3 separate regions of the Homo sapiens genome follow, and all the other regions are linked to region 1. The links are contacts of gene promoters, found by promoter capture Hi-C in blood cells and fetal thymus (Javierre and others, 2016). All regions are on one chromosome and are shown on one strand. The core of a region is centred on a gene start or on the middle of the fragment in contact, and the rest is flanking DNA. Distances in the headings are between cores, read along the strand shown. Region 1 holds the start of CD80 (CD80 molecule). Region 2 holds the start of NR1I2 (nuclear receptor subfamily 1 group I member 2). Region 3 overlaps CFAP91 (cilia and flagella associated protein 91).

Region 1 (3,587 bases), core at 563-3,062:
GCAAAACAGGCAGGGCTGATGACAATCCAATTGCTCACGTAGAAGACCCTCCAGTGATGTTTACAAAACACACAGAGATTGGAGGGTGTTCCTGGGTCTCCAAAGGTTGTGGATTTAGTTTCACAGCCTGAAAAAGGAACAAATAAAAGTCATTCAGGAAGGAAGGTGTGCCTACTTTGAGTTGCAAAACTCTCGAGTTGCCTGCTAAAATTAATTGGAGAGCTTAACCTAAGCAACCTCTAAAGCAGGGCGTGACCCTGAGGAAAAGCGAATGGAAATTCTGTGAGGGGACCAGTTCCAAGAACCAACCACAGCCCTTCCATGAAAAGGCTTTCTACTTAATAGGTGGGGTGAAGATTTGGTTAGAAACAGGAGAGCTCTAAGGACCCTCCATATCTGTTAGCCAACCTGCAAAAGTTCAAATCCTCTTCTGAACATACCAAGAAACATAGAGCAGACAGTAAGGGTGTATTTTGTCCAAGGCAGGACCTAAGTTATGAAACAACTTCTTTCTTGACATATTAACATAAGAAAACAAGTATCTCAATTCTTTAAACCCTCTACTCAAATAATATATCATAAAGGGGTATGAGATCTCAATAACCAGAAAAGTCTATCCATAAAAAGGGAGGGAAAAAAAGACACTGCAGACGTTACTTATCAAAATTATGTACTCCAGGGCCAGGCGTGGTGGCTCACGCCTGTAATCCCAGCACTTTGGGAGGCTGAGGTGGGCGGATTACTTGAGGCCAGGAGTTCCAGACCAGCCTGGCCAACATGGCAAAACCCCATTTCTACCAAAAATACAAAAATTAGCCAGGTGTGGTGGTGGGTGCCTGTAATCCCAGCCACTTGGGAGGCTGAGGCACGAGAATTGCTTGAATCCAGGAGGTGGAGGCTGCAGTGAGCCAAGATGATTGCAACACTGCACTCCAGCCTAGGCGACAGAGTGAGACTCCATCTCAAAAAAAAAAAAAAAAAAAATTATGTACTGTCATGTGAGGTGGCTAGGGATTAATTTTTCCAGTAAATATGTCAAAATTGAGAAATGAAAATAAACACTGTGCTCCACTGTCACCCCTTCAGGCTGCTACCAGGACACAGCCCCGTGCTGCTCAGAGAATGCTTGAGTGTCCTCTTTGGAGACCACCCTAGAGCTAGAGTTCCAGCCACGCCATATTGTTTTATTAGCCATCATCCATTTTAGACAGGATTAGTTAAAAGAGACTTATTCACCAGAATTTGTTTTTCTTAAGATAGAATCTTGCTCTGTCACACAGGCTAGAGTGCAGTGGCGTGACCATAGCTCACCACAGTCTCAACCTCCCGAGCTCAAGCGATTTTCCCACTTTCACTAGAATTTTACTGGCTTGAGAAATTCAAATACGGCCCACAAAAACAATATTTGCTAGGATCTAGGATATTTTAAAATAATGGGCCACAATTCTCACTATGATGCTCCAAATATGTCGGGAAGCCACAGCCTCCTGTGGGAATGAGACCCTAAGGGTTCCTTTGAGGGCAAGCCTGGATCCAGGAGGTGGTAGCAGAGGTATTGTTTGTTTAAAAAGCAGTGAGGTTGCTGGTAACTAGTTCTACCAAGCTATCCCATAGTAAGATAATAGTAAATGTACTTACTTGCTGAAGAAAAATTCCACTTTTTCTTTAAATCCTTTGATTTCAGGGTAAGACTCCACTTCTGAGATGTTCTCTTCTTACAGTCTATAAAGCAATGACAAATCACTTTTTCTTTGGGTAATCTTCAGAGAGGCGACATTTCCCCTTCTAACTTCTGTTACTTTACAGAGGGTTTGAGTTCACTCAGTACTTGTCAGTGCCAGGAGTTGGACAGGGTGTTTGAAGAAGCGCCCTCTGCTGCCGTCTTCTTCTAGTTGCTTTTGTAGAGGCTGTGGCTGGGGCAAATCACACAGCAGCCTCCCTCACCACCGTGCATGGACTAACAAACATGAAACACCACGAGCACCAGGCGGCCTAGGGGAGGAGAAGAATGGTGCCCGAGAAGAGTGAGGGGCATCTGGCTAGCCTTGCTGTGTGATGGGAGGCCAGCTTCATGGGCTGGCTGTTTCTGTGCTGGTCTCAAGTTTTGTTTTAGCACCCAGAGTTACTCCTGAGTCCCTGCAGGAATAAGCTGTCAACCTCATATGTAGGGGACACTTTTGGGAGAGTGCTCAGCTCACAGGACCACCCAACTCTACTCCCACCTCTGAATCCCACCATCTTCAGAGAGTGGGCTCCTGCCAGCCACGCTGGACAGTGAATTCTGGTCACCCTAGCCACAGTTGAGTGCGCCTCTGGTGGGATGAGGAAGACTTTAGTCATGCCCATCACTCCCATTTCCAACTAGGTTGCCACCCACCCCTGTGTGTCCCTTTGTAGGATTCTGGAGCCCCTGTGAGTGAGCAGCTGACCCATGCTGGACCAGTGTACTTGTTTGCACAGGTGGAACCTGACAGCACCTTGCATGGGTTGCAGTGAGCCGAGATCACAACACTACAATCCAGCTTGGGTAACAGAGCAAGACTCCATCTCAAAAAAAAAAAAAAAAAAAAGACGCCATCCTTCCCACACCAGCCAGAAAGAGAGCAAACCGTGTGGGTGAGAAATACTGACTACAGCGGCGGCTTCCTTCATCTCAGCAACAAGTTTGTGGCAGAGCTTAGTGGATACCACCCTATTCACCTGAGATTTGGAATACTGAAGCTTTGGAAATCATGAAGGCAGAACTTGCTATGAAAGGACTCCACTGCACTGTCTCCTTCTGTATTGGCAGAAGGGGCCTAGTGAGCACCCTTCTTCACCTGTGTCTTGTTCTGGTCTCAGATGCATATTTTGAATAGTTGCAAGGAATATGGATGTGACAATTCCTGCCTTACCTCTAGTAGATCAACATTACATTTTCAAGTAAAGGGAACATAGATTGGAGGTAAGTTCATGTTTTCTATTTTCTTGAACATTTATTCAGATCAAAGAAATGTTTTCACTGATTTTAGCCACTTCTACTTGATACATTATTACAATGCACTGGAAGTGATTTTTTTTCCAGGTATTTAAAGTAATAGAAAGTTATAGATGTCAACTTAAAAGAGCAAAGAAATACAGAGTTTTAGAAATTTATTTTCTTTTTTTTTTTTTAGATGAAGTCTTTCTCTGCCGCCCAGGCTGGAGTGCAGTGGTGCAATCTTGGCTCACTGCAACCTCCGCCTCCTGGGTTCAAGCAATTCTTCTGCCTCAGCCTCCTGAGTAGCTGGGACTACAGGCGTGTGCCACCATGCCAGGCTAATTTTTAAATTTTTAGTAGAGATGGGGTTTCACCATATTGGCCAGGCTGGTCTCAAACTCCTGACCTTGTGATCCACCCTCCTCGGCCTCCCAAAGTGCTGGGATTACAGGCATGAGCCACTGCACCCAGCCGAGTTTTAGAAATTTCATGAGGGACTACATGAATACAAATTTTGACGATCACAGACACCCTCAAATTTTAAGAATCCCAGTGAAATCCTAACCTGCCTTGGAGAAACACACATTAAACAACTTTGCCATTAGCGCTTTGATGTGACTTAATCAAA
Region 2 (3,587 bases), core at 560-3,059, 220 kb after region 1:
GAAGGTCAGGCCCTTGTGAGCCAGAAGGGATTTGAGAGATGATGAAAGCTACGTATGTTACCCATAACCTAAGGACTTCTGGCAAGGTGGCCTACCTGAGCTGGAGTCATGCCTTTTTTCCCTGGACTTGGAGATACCTGTCAGTGCAGAAAGGCCTACTTTTGATCTTGGAAATAAGTTTCCTGGGGTGAGTTCTTAACCCTTTCCAGCTTTCCCACCCTCTTTGGCTTTAGCCATGGCCTTCTGATCTGTGTTTCTCAGGGGACCTGCAGGCCCCAGATATAGCCCCATGCTGTCCTCCTACCCCAGAGCACACTGTTCAGGCTACTTCCACTGGTACTGAAATCCAGTATTTCACTTACTCTTTTTCTTTCCAATATCCTCATGACATTCAATATTTCACTTACTCTAGGTCCTCCCTGCCTAAGGCCCAAGTCAACTTTCTGTCCAGTGGGATTTGTAATCCAATACCTCCTAGCCCTAGCAGAATCCCATGTGGATAATCAGAAATGTGACTGGAAAAAGGACAGAGCTCTATGGCTGTGGGTCCCAGTCCCCACTGCTGGCAGTAAGTCCCCAGCAGTGAGCTGTGTAAGCACCTTACATTCTGCGCTTGGTTGAAAACAGCAAGGCAAGCATCCACTTGAGAAATGTCAACCCCTAGGAAATCCCAGCCTCAAGTCTTTCTCATCCCTTGGGAAGTGCAAATTGGATAGAGAAGAAACCAATTAAAAACAAAACAAACAAATCATACTTAGATATTCTGGCTTTTCTCACCAGGGCTGGATTAAAGCATGTACTTCAAAATAATAACAACTTAAGTCAATAAATAAATGTAAGGAAGTCCAAATGTTCACCTGAAGACAACTGTGGTCATTTTTTGGCAATCCCAGGTTCTCTTTTCTACCTGTTTGCTCAATCGTGGTCTCCCTCTCCCTCTCTTGTTGGGGCCCATGCCCCTGCTTTACTGTTGCCAGAGGCTTGTACTTGTTTGCCTTTTAGGTAGGAGCAGTTACTTCCACTCCCCTCACCTGCCATAAAGCATCTTTATAAACAAAGCAAGTAGAAGAAACACATCCTGGTATCCACCACATTCGGCTTTTGTTGATTCTGTTCACTTGGGAGCACCTGCTGCTAGGGAATAAGAAGGTTGAGGCTGAAGAGTGAGGACTCTTCAGCTCCCCTCTGGCAGGACCCGGGAGAGGAAAGAGCCCTCAGCTGGTCCATCCTCCCCACTCCTGGTCAGCCTTCTGTTCTGAGATCAAAGTGGTGGGGTCACATTCTCGAGAACTGTGCTCAGCCCCCTCATCTCACACCCTTTCCCTCTCCCTGTGTGCCTGCCCCCCTCTTACATAACCATGCTGGTGATTGGCACCGTCATAAATCAATACTTTGCTCACTTTCACATCAAGTAACACTATCCAGGGAGGTGGTTTCAACAAAGGAGGAAGTATAAGGAGATCTAGGTTCAAATTAATGTTGCCCCTAGTGGTAAAGGACAGAGACCCTCAGACTGATGAAATGCACTCAGAATTACTTAGACAAAGCGGATATTTGCCACTCTCTTCCCCTTTTCCTGTGTTTTTGTAGTGAAGAGACCTGAAAGAAAAAAGTAGGGAGAACATAATGAGAACAAATACGGTAATCTCTTCATTTGCTAGTTCAAGTGCTGGACTTGGGACTTAGGAGGGGCAATGGAGCCGCTTAGTGCCTACATCTGACTTGGACTGAAATATAGGTGAGAGACAAGATTGTCTCATATCCGGGGAAATCATAACCTATGACTAGGACGGGAAGAGGAAGCACTGCCTTTACTTCAGTGGGAATCTCGGCCTCAGCCTGCAAGCCAAGTGTTCACAGTGAGAAAAGCAAGAGAATAAGCTAATACTCCTGTCCTGAACAAGGCAGCGGCTCCTTGGTAAAGCTACTCCTTGATCGATCCTTTGCACCGGATTGTTCAAAGTGGACCCCAGGGGAGAAGTCGGAGCAAAGAACTTACCACCAAGCAGGTATGGTTTTTCTTTCTTTCTCTTTTGCTGGGGGCTGACCGCCCTTCAGCTCCAGCCAAAAGATGTGTGTGAACACAAATATACCTTCTGTTTGAGGTCAGCATCATAGTGGGTCGTGAATCATGTTGGCCTTGCTGCTGTCTCCTCATTTCTAGGGTGGAAAAAAAAAAGCATGAAAACAATCACTTAATGTTGAGCCCCATTACTGATGCTCTCTGGTCCTGCACTAGCCTCCTAGAAAAATCACCACAGGAGAAGCCTTAACTACTGCATGAGTTACCACAAGTCACACATACAACCAGCTCCCTGTTACAGGGCTGGAGTCCCTGGACCCAGGAAATACCACCTCCAAGGACTGTGGGAGCTGGGGACTATGGGAACTGGGATCAACTCAGTCCTGATTCCTTTTGGCCTGCTGGGTTAGTGCTGGCAGCCCCCTGAGGCCAAGGACAGCAGCATGACAGTCACCAGGACTCACCACTTCAAGGAGGGGTCCCTCAGAGCACCTGCCATACCCCTGCACAGTGCTGCGGCTGAGTTGGCTTCAAACCAGTGAGTTTTCTACCTCTACTATTGAAAGGGCACCTTGTCCCACAGAACCGAGTCTTGCCTGCATGTGGTCAGTGCCACCAGGTCCTTCTTCTCTCCACTTTACAGCCCAGCTCGGCTGAAGCTATGGCCAGAGGCACTGCTTTAAGGCCACTCCATATCTAGGACAGGTCAACAGACACCTCTGAGGCCACTGAGTCTTGACTCAATGAATCAGCTATAGCAGGCACTATTCCTCTCCCACATGGCCTCTAATGATATGGTCAGAGTTGAAAGGATGCTAAGGGAGGCCTCAGAGGCTTATTTAATCAGTTGGTTAATGGGAAAAAGTATTTTGTGGTACACAAATACGCTTTAAAAATATTTTAGTTATGTCATAAAAGTCTAAACCTGGGGTTGACAAACTATGGCTCACAGGCTAACTCTGGCCCACCAGCTGTTTTTATAAATGAAGCTTTATTGGAACACAGCCATGCCCATTCGTTATGTATTGTATATGGCTGTTTTTGCCCTACAACATCCTTTCAACTCTGGCCATATCATTAGAGGCCATGTGGGAGAGGAATAGTGCCTGCTATAGCTGATTCATTGAGTCAGCAAAATTGACCAATTGCGAAAGAGACAGTATGGCCCACAAAGCCTAAAATATTAACTATCTGGCCTTTAACAGAAAAAGTTTGCCAACTCCTGATCTAAAAGCTGTCAACTTGTTCCAAAATTATTATGGAATAAACCCAAGACAACCACAAAACTGACTAGACTAGGTTTTTTAGGTAATAACTTTTTAAATTATAAAGTAATACATGATTTCATGCTCCTTGAAAATGAGAAAGCAGTATAGATAAACCTAAATTCACCTTTGGCCATTCTGTCAATCCTAATCTCCAGTTTCCCCAAAAGTACTTAGTGTGATATATTTACTGCCAGACCATTGTGTCTGTGTGTGTGTTCATCTATGCATAGATGGACTATTAAACCTATCTGTTGCCATGTTGTTCTAATTCTGTTTTTCCACTCAATAGCAAGACT
Region 3 (3,587 bases), core at 401-2,900, 150 kb after region 1:
GTTGGCTGGCCAATGAATTGACTGGCCTTGGGCCAGGTTTCCACCTTGACAGAACTGTGGTGGTGCAAAGATGAACACCTTTCCAGGTTCTTTTACCCTTCCTTATGAAGCCCTATGTGATTAGTTCCCTAGTTACTTCTCTGGCCTCTTATCTACTCTCTTTCCCCTCCTTCATTCTGCCTCATTTGTCCTGGTTTCTTTGCTATTCTTCAGACGTATCAGGCATGTTCCCATCCTAGGGACTTTGCTGTTCTTCAGATGTATCAGGCATGCTCCCATCCTAGAATGTTCTTCAGATATCTAACTAGCTAACTCCCTCACCTTCAAGTCTCCTTACATGCCACCTTCTCAAGGGCCTGCCCCGACCACCCTAGTTAAAATTGCAACCCAATCTTCCTTACCCGATTTCTTCTTTTTTAAAAATAACAACCCTCAAATTCTAATGTGTAATTTGCTAGTTTATTATGTTTGTTGTTTGTTGTCTCTCTCTCATGAAGTCAAAGATTTTTGTCGTTTTGTTGATGTATTCTAAGCACCTAGATAGAGTAGCCAGTCAATAAACATGTGTTGAATGAAGGAGCAAAAAGAGCCTGAGCCTCTTGCAGCTTTTCAGCCTTGGTGGGAATATCCAATGTCTGCATTCAGTAAATCGTATTTGTTGGGTTACTAATGAATTATTAGGTTTTAGGAATTGACACACATTATCCAAATTCAAAAGAGACTTGTTTCTAAATCACAATTCCCAAATTATTAATTTCTATGGAGAAATATGTGTTACCATGTTATCTAGACTAGCTGGTCAGGGTATTTGCCTCCCCAGAGACAAGTCTACTTGGGAAATCAAGTGTATCCAAAGGCTGCTTGTTAATTTAATGGCAAATCAGTTGATTTTAAAGGGTGGTACAGTATAGTCAATCATGAATATTCTTCATCACTTTAAAGATATACCTGATAAACAGATACTTATAATAGCAGGGCAATATTTTGTTGAACTTTGTAAAAATAACAGTTCCATCATCAGCAAACTTACAAACTTAAGGGGTGAATTCTGAAGATAGCTGATTTTTTTTTTAACCGTGTTCACCAATTCTGAGATATCATGTGGTTTGCATCTTTCTAGTGCACCAAATATGGGAGATGGTATAAATGTATTGCTTCTTTCACTTGCAAATTGGCATAGTGCGTATATACAAGGTCTTTCCCTTGAAGAATTTTTTGGGTTACCCAGGCTCAAAAGGAGTTTTGTTCATAGGAGAGAAGAAAGTGTGTTCAGGGTGTAGTACTTGAAAACATGCTAGACTTTCTTTATGAATTCCACTTCCGTAAGCTGACTTGGAATACTCAGAAAAGAAAAACATCTTGACAACTGTTGCTGGTAGAAGTGGTAGAGTAACAGGGCCACATGCACAACAGAGCATGAGCTGCTGCAGAGTCAGACAATATTTAAACTTTTAAATTTGTTTTCCAATTAAGAGATTACATTACTTTGCCATTATTCTCAGCCTAGGGGTAGATATGTTCTATCTGTTATGCTACTTGATTGTTTATTTTGCAGATCCATTGTTTATTGTGTCAAGTGAGAAAGACCATACACAGGCAAATATCCAAGCTACCCTGATTCGCAGCAGACTGGTATGTCTAATTCATCAGCCAAGGCTACCTGATGAACCTGAACCATCTAGTTTGCCTGACTGCATTGATCAGATTGACTAATCACCAAATCTTCACTGGATTTTAGGTTCCACAGAAATTACCTTGCCAAGATTACTGGAGGGCAAAGCATCTTAATACGTGTGGCTCATTGTGAGGATTAAGTCACCAATAATGAACAGAGAACCCATAAGCTAATTTATTTCAATGGGATAAATTTAATAATATATGCCCATGTTAAAAGAATTCAAGTAGTATAAAAGCATATACAGTGTGAAGTAAATTCTAGCCCTATCCCCTACCCCCTCCACATAAACAGCCATTGTCATCAGTTTCTTGGGCATGTATTTAAAGATATTTTACGCATACAGCAATAACCCCTCTTCTTATGCTGTATACATTGTTTTGTATGTTTTTAAAAAGAGTTTACAATGTAATTAAAATGCTTTAGAAAAGCTGATGGTATAATTTTGTCCTTTGCCTCCCTTCTCTAACATTAGAGAAAAGTTCCCAGGTTTAAAACCATGTTCAGTAACCTGATCCATTATCCAAGATATTCTCTATATTGGAGCAAGTCAGATCCTGTCCCACCATTTATCAGTCGGGAATGGAAGGGACATAAGGAGAAACACAGAGAAGCCCTCCGGCAGCTCACCACGTAAGTGTCGGGTGGCTCCAGGGCCTAAAATAAATGCATTAAAAGCATTTCTTTAAATTCATTTACCATGTGTGGTTTTAAAATGTTCAGTTGTGGTGTTATACCTAGGCCAAATTTTCTTTCTAAACCTCTTTTGACCAAACAAACCTGATTATATATTGTATATATGAGATATATATATATATATAATTTTGTCATATATATAATGACAACTTGCCACCAAAGGTAGGGATGATTGAGTTTGTTGTTGCTTGGATCCAACTTAGCAACTGAAAGTGCTCTGTTCTGCTAGTATCTAAAATATTTTTTGGGAACTTGGGGCCAAAGCACCTTCAAGAATAAGTCGAATTCTTTATTCTTTTAATTACTTACAAGTTCACATTTAGTAAATTAAAAATTATAAAGCCTTTTAACCTGGACATAGAAAAAGTGTCTTTTGGCCAGGCACAGTGGCTCACGCCTGTAATCCCAGCACTTTGGGAGGCCGAGGCAGGCGGATCATGAGGTCAGGAGATTGAGACCATCCTGGCTAACACGGTGAAACCCCGTCTCTACTAAAAATACAAAAAGTTAGCCGGGTGTGGTGGCAGGTGCCTGTAGTCCCAGCTACTTGGGAGGCTGAGGCAGGAGAATGGCATGAACCCAGGAGGTGGAGATTGCACCACTGCACTCCAGCCTGGGTGACAGAGCGAGACTCTGTCTCAAAAAAAAAAAAAAAAAAAATTGTCTTTTAATATTTTGCTATTCTTGTGTGCTTTTAATTAAAATTGGGCATTTTTGTATGTGGGATTTCATAAATCCACTCTTTTCTCAGCTCTTGCTCTGTCTGACTAGGTTCTGGTCTCCTGGCTCAGGGGAAGAATCATATATACTCTAAGTTGTATGGCAGTCAAATGCAGGTTATGGAAGACTTTACTCTCAGTATGAGATACTCTGTGTAGGTCCTACTCTATACACATAGAAATATTAAATAGAAATTATATGTGGAAATATTTTAGACTTGAATAATGTTTTCTTGCTTCATTTTAGAACTGACGCTTCTTTTCAGATGCCTAAAGAAGTTTATGAAGATCCTGAAGTTACTGGAAAGAATCGCTATAAATACTTTGAAAGGTAGAACATAATTACTAATGAATATTTGAGCCCTAATATTATTAGAGAACCTCTTTATGATAATAATAATAGTTATCATTTTTCAGTGCATACAACGTGCCAGACTCTATTTTAAGTGCTTTACATGCATATGATCTAATCGTTAAAACAGGAATGTAGGCTAAGA

The links. The method cuts DNA at HindIII sites, captures the fragments that hold promoters and counts their contacts. A CHiCAGO score of 5 or more calls a contact.
Region 2: a contact is called between the fragment with the promoter of NR1I2 here and the fragment with the promoter of CD80 in region 1, in 11 of 17 cell types (neutrophils, erythroblasts, M2 macrophages and 8 more). The highest score is 13.0, in neutrophils.
Region 3: a fragment that was not itself captured here is called in contact with the fragment with the promoter of CD80 in region 1 in 1 of 17 cell types (monocytes); the score reaches 6.4 in monocytes.

The regions. Positions count from the first base shown.
Region 1 is chr3:119,557,802-119,561,388 of GRCh38, forward strand. It overlaps CD80 (CD80 molecule), which reads right to left and starts at 1,813. Exons shown (of 7, transcript NM_005191.4): 1 at 1,639-1,813; 2 at 1-127. It overlaps LOC107986118 (a long non-coding RNA gene), which reads left to right and starts at 2,629. Exons shown (of 2, transcript XR_001740861.2): 1 at 2,629-2,944. RefSeq lists a silencer at 121-415 and enhancers at 121-415, 777-936, 1,207-1,266, 2,037-2,086. The HindIII fragment of the contact is 26,007 bases long and covers 1-2,719 here.
Region 2 is chr3:119,780,292-119,783,878 of GRCh38, forward strand. It overlaps NR1I2 (nuclear receptor subfamily 1 group I member 2), which reads left to right and starts at 1,810. Exons shown (of 9, transcript NM_003889.4): 1 at 1,810-2,009. The HindIII fragment of the contact is 6,406 bases long and covers 1-3,010 here.
Region 3 is chr3:119,705,254-119,708,840 of GRCh38, forward strand. CFAP91 (cilia and flagella associated protein 91) reads left to right here. Exons shown (of 18, transcript NM_033364.4): 2 at 1,556-1,632; 3 at 2,151-2,308; 4 at 3,338-3,421. Among named protein-coding and RNA genes, the nearest start is that of CFAP91, 4.0 kb to the left of the region's middle. The HindIII fragment of the contact is 4,731 bases long and covers 1-3,587 here.